2 separate regions of the Homo sapiens genome follow, and region 2 is linked to region 1. The links are contacts of gene promoters, found by promoter capture Hi-C in human tissues and cell types (Jung and others, 2019). All regions are on one chromosome and are shown on one strand. Each heading gives the region's core, a stretch centred on a gene start or on the middle of the fragment in contact. The rest is flanking DNA. Distances are from core to core; before and after follow the strand shown.

The links. Contacts are between HindIII fragments. The study calls those that stand out against the background at their distance.
Region 2: a fragment that was not itself captured here is called in contact with the fragment with the promoter of PDE6B in region 1 in 2 of the 25 tissues and cell types used here (H1 embryonic stem cells and dorsolateral prefrontal cortex).

Annotation. Positions count from the first base shown.
Region 1 is chr4:624,105-627,205 of GRCh38, reverse strand. It overlaps PDE6B (phosphodiesterase 6B), which reads right to left and starts at 1,633. Exons shown (of 22, transcript NM_000283.4): 1 at 1,112-1,633. The coding sequence starts at 1,579. RefSeq lists enhancers at 1-967, 968-1,957, 2,947-3,101. The HindIII fragment of the contact is 19,693 bases long and covers 1-2,520 here.
Region 2 is chr4:373,356-376,456 of GRCh38, reverse strand. It overlaps ZNF141 (zinc finger protein 141), which reads right to left. Exons shown (of 4, transcript NM_003441.4): 4 at 1-3,101. The coding sequence ends at 2,595. Among named protein-coding and RNA genes, the nearest start is that of MIR571, 25 kb to the right of the region's middle. The HindIII fragment of the contact is 4,529 bases long and covers 1-3,101 here.

The DNA.
Region 1 (3,101 bases), core at 384-2,883:
CCACTGTACTCCAGCCTGGTGACAGAGCAAGACTCTGTCTCAAAAAAAAAAAAAACCCACAAACGAAAACAAACCAGGATTGCCACTCCCCAGCTGCCTGGGAAGGAGGGACCACACCTGCCCCTGGGCTGGCAGCCTGGTGGGTAATTCCCAAGGCTCATCCAGCAAGAGCGGAGGCTGCCTGGGCCTCTTGCAGCCTCCTTAGCTGTGGGGACAGAAAAGGGGAGAGGAAGCTGGGACGGGTGCAGGACAGGGAGAAGGGGCTTCCCCCCTCCCCTTCTTCCTCAGAGCCCCCTTGCCGGGCAGCTCCTCAGGGCCTTTCCAGGTCTCTGCTGGCCGCTGCCCTCACCCAGTCTGGCAGGCACCTCACACCCCTCTTGTTCTCCAGTCCCGCCAGGACCGCCTCTGTCCTCGGGAAGCGTCTGCCCTAGCCCAGGCTTTGCATGAACAGGCCCTGCCCTTCCCTCCTTCAGTGACTCCAGTGAGCCTGTCTCGATTCTGTCTCTTGTCCCTCCCCAGTCCCACCCTGGACCCCTGTGCTCAGTGGCTACCAGGTTTGTTCTCCCCTGGCGGCTGGCGTGGGCTCCCATGGGATAAAGCTGCTTCTGCCACAGTGGAAGTTTGGGGTTCCCCTGGCTCTCCCTCCCTGTGGGCGTCTGCACCACCTTCGACTGTGACCTCTTCTTCCCAAATCCCAAGGCAGGGCCTCCCTCCCAGCCCAGAGAGCCCTGAAGCCCCCATCTGGTCAGTCTTCCTGGAAGCCAGGGGTCCTCACAGGGACTACATGGTCCCCACCATGGGATGTGGATGCAGAATCAGGGGCACCCCGGTTTGAGCCTGAGTCTGCTTCAGCCGAGGCTCCTAGACTCAGGTCTAACCAACTCAGTGGCCATGCGATGTCAGCTTGAGCCAGAAGCCGAGTCGGAGAGGCAGGCGGCCAGGGCACAGTGCCGGGAGGGGGCTCTAGGTACTTGCTCCTCAGCACAGAACTAGCCTGTGCCCTGACAAGAGGCCTCCCTGGAGGCCTGAGGATCCGAGCTGACCCTTAGACACCTGGGACAGGTGCAAGAGATGCACACAGCCGCCTCCCTGAGGCTCCGCACAGACCCACCTCGGCCACGTCCTCGACGTTCACCATCTTTTTGGTCTGAGCCACGTGGCCCACGACCCCGATGTCCAGTGGGAAGACGATCTCGGAGTCGGGGGGCACCAGGCAGTCCTCCAGGACGCTGTCCGGCTGCACGCTGAAAAGCCTGGTGGCCAGCTCGGCCACGCCGTTGCGCTGGCGGTACATGAAGAGGCTGCAGCGGTCGGCCTGCAGGAGGGTGCAGAGGCGCCGCAGGACCTTGAAGACCACGCGCTCCATGTTGATGCTCTCCTGCATATCCTGCACCAGCTCCAGCAGCGCCGTGCTCTCCTCCACCTGGCAGAGGTCCCGGAGGCTGTCGCAGTCCGGCGGGCACCCGTCCTCGCAGGCCGCGGCCACATTCTCAGGGCTCAGTTTCTTCCCAAAGTACTGGCGGGCAAAATCGGGGTTCTGGTCCAGAAAGCTCCGGGCCTGCTCCTCACTGAGGCTCATGGTGGCTGCCTGTCCCTGGAGACGCTGCTGCTCCAGGCACGCATGGACTCCCAGGAAACCCTGTCATCAGCAAAGTCTTTCTTAGTGAGATTAGGAACCCCGGGGGCGGGTCAGCTGACTCACTCCTACAAATGGGGGCCTGCGCTCCCTCTCCTCAGACCCTGGGACTTCCCACCTTCCAGGAAAACCAGACCCTGTGGAATGAAGGCTGGGAGTAACTGTTGGGGGATCTCCTGCCTGTTGCAGGCGTCACGGGTGGCTGGGCACAGGCATTTGGCTTCTAGCGGACCAGGCCCTGAGAACTAATCCCCTGAGGAGGTTATCCCACACACAGCATGACGCTTTCTGCTGGTGGAGCTGCCTGAGGGTTTGGGTTGGTCCCACAGGTGGCCCCAGGCCCTCCTGGGAGCCCAGACCTGGGCTCGGGTGTGCTGGGGAGGTGGTGGGGCACTGGCCCTGCCTCCAGGAGATGCAGTTCACCCCTGTGCAGGGAGAGGGGGCTGGGTAATCACACCAGGACCCAAATGCCCAGAGGCCAGCAAGGGGACCCTGGATGTGGAGGTGGGACCACATCCACCTTCCCCCACACTCTGAGGGATGCAGAGTTGCTAGTCAGCCTTTACCTGCTGTCAGGCCCCGGCTGGGACAAGCTTCGGGGTGACGCCGCTCTGAGGCCACATGGCTTTCAGTGGAAAAAGGACCTGAATGTTGGGGGGCTGCCTGGCAACAAAGCCCGACCTCTCCTCTCCGCTGTCACCTCAGCAAGCCTTGCCTGCTCCCATAGGCCTCTCGGCTCCTGGGCCAGCTCCCTGCAGGCCAGCAGGGGTGATGTGGCCAGAAGCACCTTGGCTGGGTCTGGCATGGGCGCCGGCCTGGCGGGCGGGTGGCAGTGTTCCTGATTTCCCTGAATATAAAAACGCTGATTGTCGCTTTCCAGGCACCTTTGTGCTGCCAGATCCTGGGCTTAAGGTTTCTTCCCATCTTTTCCAGTTTATCTGTCCATGTTGTCACCATACTTTTAACCAGGATGCAAGGTTTTCATGTGGTTCTTTTACTGCACTCAGCTGGTAGACGTGTGTGCACGCGTGCATGAGTGTGCACATACGTGTGTGCACGGAGTGTGAGTGTGCGCACGTGTAGGTGTGTGTGTTCGTGTGAGCACGTGTGCATGACAGCCAGGTGCCCTCAGGAGCGCAGAGTTCTCTCAGCACGAGGCCAGGCCCCGGGGAAGCTTCTGCGAGGGCCCTGGGCTGCACCGCTGCAGCTGCCTGTCTCGGAGGCTGCTCTGAGGCAGCATCTGCGCCGTCCACAGTGGGCCCAGCTGGGTGTGCGACGTGTGCCCTTGTGCCATGATGTTCCTGCCTCCACTTAGTCACAAAGTCACTTCCTTTCAAGGATCTGCTGAGAGGCTTCCCCTTTTTCCTAAAAATAGTGAATTCTCACTGGGGACGGGGGAGTGGGGATGTGGGTGGGGGGAGGGGTTGTGGGGCCGCTGCAGTGCTTGGGTTTGGGGCCGGGGGGA
Region 2 (3,101 bases), core at 395-2,894, 250 kb after region 1:
GTGTGTAATACAAAGGATGAATGCTTGAGGTGATGAATAACTCATTTACTCTGGTATATTACATGTTGTATGCCTGTATAAGAAAATAACCCATATATGCCATAGATAAATATGCATACTATGTACCCACAAAAATTTCGGAAAATAACAAGAGTGAAAATACAACATATGGGAATGATATTCTTCAATGTATTTGCTATTTAAAGCCACTGGAAAAAGAGAATACTAAAAATGTCATTCAACTATGTTACCATTGTTACCATCTTTTACCTACACCATTGAGTAAGGTGGGATAGGTTTAAGTTGGTGGCATAATGACACTTCATTCAAGCAACAATTATTTCAACACGTTAAAAATTTTGTTTAGTTAAAAAATTATGTTCCCACATAATCTTAAAATAATTTTAAAATTTACTGTATCTTATTACATAAATGTATAATTGGTAAAACAATTTACTACTAAAACAGATTTTCTCTCACTATAATGCAGAAGAATATTACTCTGAACACCTACCTCATGCATCACTCAATATTGTCAACTACAAAAAAGCCTCTCTGCTAGATTTTCATCATGGATCTTTCATTTCTGTCCTCACTCTTTCTTGTAAAAATTCACAAATAATGCCCACCTAATGAAAAAGAATCTCTCTTATCTCTGATGCAGCAACAATTCATCACATGCTTTCACATAAACAGGAATGTTGAAACAGTATGAAATAATTTGAGTTGAATTAACTATTATATGCTTTTCAAAAAATCTATACTTTTTTCAAGTGAAAAAATATACTTTAAATGTAGTATCTCTTCAAAAATCTTCTTTTCAACTTATATACAAAGAAATTCTCTAATAGGTTCAACTTTGGATTTTTTTAATACTTAATACTCTGATTTACTGCAGTGTCTAAAGTGTTAGTTCCTTAGTTCTTTCTACTGTAAATCCTCTGATGTTTACATACTCTTCTTTTTAGACTAAATATTTCTTCACATTTACTGCATCTACAAAATATTTTCTAGTGTAAACTGTTTAAGCTGCAGTTTTTGAACAAATGTTTTTCCACATTTATTACATTTGTAGGATTTCTCTCCAATATAAATTTTCTGATGTTGAAGAAAGTCTCCTTCAGTGTTTTCCCCTATTATAAAATGTGTACAACAAAATCCATGAGAGAAGTACAGGTACTACAACCCTCTTTATATTTGTATTGTTTGTCTTAAGAATACTCTTCTTCACTTTAAAGGCCTATATTTTCTGAAGTCTTTCAACAGAAATTACATTTATAATGTTTTTATTAAGTATGAACATTGCTAGTTAGTAAAATGTGAGGAGATATGACTTTTCTATATTTTTTATATTTCTATAACTTTTCTCGAATATAAAGGATATCATGTGCAAAAAGATGAGCATTGGTAAAAATCCTGCCACATTTTTTGCATTTCCAGGGGATTTCTTCAGTAGGAATTATATATATACAGTAAGATGTGACAAGCATTTGAAGGCTTTGCCACATTTTTCATATTTTTGTGGCTTCTCACCAATATCATTTCTCTTATATTTAGAATAGATTGAGTGTGGTTGCAAGCTTTGTCACACTTTCCACGTTTGCAGTTTCTCTTCAGTGTGAATTATCTTATGATTAGAAAAGACTGAGGAAGATTTAAAGACTGCCACATTCTTCACATTTGTAAGACTTTCCTCCAGTATGAGTTCTCATTATGTTTAAGAAGCCTGGAGTATGGCTTAAAGGTTTTGTCACATCTTTTACATTTCTATGGTTTTATATCTAGGATGAATTCTTATATTCATCTTTCATATCTTCTCAATGTAAGTTTGTGGAATGAATCTTCTACTCTCAAATATGAATTTTCATAAAGGTTTGTGGATGGTCTGAAGGCTCTGCCACGTTTTTCACATTTGTAGCATTTTTTTCCCCAGAATGAATTATCTTGTGCACAGTAAGGGTTGAGAACCTATTGAAGGCTTTGCCACATTCTTTACATGTGTAGGGTTTCTCTCTGGTATAAATTCTCTTATGTTTAACAAAGTTTGAGGATGTGGTAAAGACTGTGCCACATTCTTCGCATGTGAAGCATTTTGCTCCAGCATGAATTCACTTACGTTCATTAAGGGTTGAGGACCATTTAAAGGCTTTGCCACACGGTTCACATGTGAAGTTTCTCTCCAGCATGAATTATATTTATTAAGCATTGAGGACCAATTAAATGCTTTGCCACATTCTGCCACATGTGTAGGGCTTCCCTCCAGCATGATTTTTCTTATGTTTATTCACCGGTGAGGGCTGTTTAAAGGTTTTGTTACACTCTTTACATTTGCAGGGTTTATCTCCAGTAATAATTTTCTTCTGCTCATTCAGGTTTGTGGACCATTCACAGGCTTTGCCATATTCTTCACATTTGTACAGTTTCTCTCCGGTATGAATTCTCTTATGTTTATCAAGGTTTGAGAATGAGGTAAAGAACTTTGCCACGTTCTTCACATTTCCAGGGTTTCTCTACAGTATAAATTTTCTCATGTTCATTAAGGTTTGTGGATCATCCAAAGGTTTGCCACATTCTTTACATTTGTAGGATTTCTCTCAAGTATGAATTTTCTTATGTTTATTCAGGTGTGAGAACCGTTTAAAGGCTTTGTCACAATCTTTACATTTGTAGGGTTTATCTACAGTATGAATTTTCTTATGTTGACTCAGGAGCGAAAATTGTTTAAAGGCTTTGTCACATTCTTTACATTTGTAGGGTTTATCTGCACTATGAATTTTCTTATGTTGACTCCGATCTGTGGACCGTCTAAAGGCTTTGCCACATTCTTCACATTTGTAGGGTTTCTCTCCAGTATGAATTTTTTTATGTTCATTCAGGACCCTGGACCGTCCAAAGGCTTTGCCACATTCATCACATTTGTAGGGCCGCTCTCCAGTATGAACTTTCTTATGTTCATTCAGTTTTGAGGACTGTCTAAAAGCTTTGCCACATTCTTCACATGTGTAGGGTTTCTCTCCAGTATGAATTCTCTTATGTTTAGTAAGGGTTGTGGACCTATTAAAGGCTTTGCCACATTCTTCACATTTGTAGGGTTTCTCTCC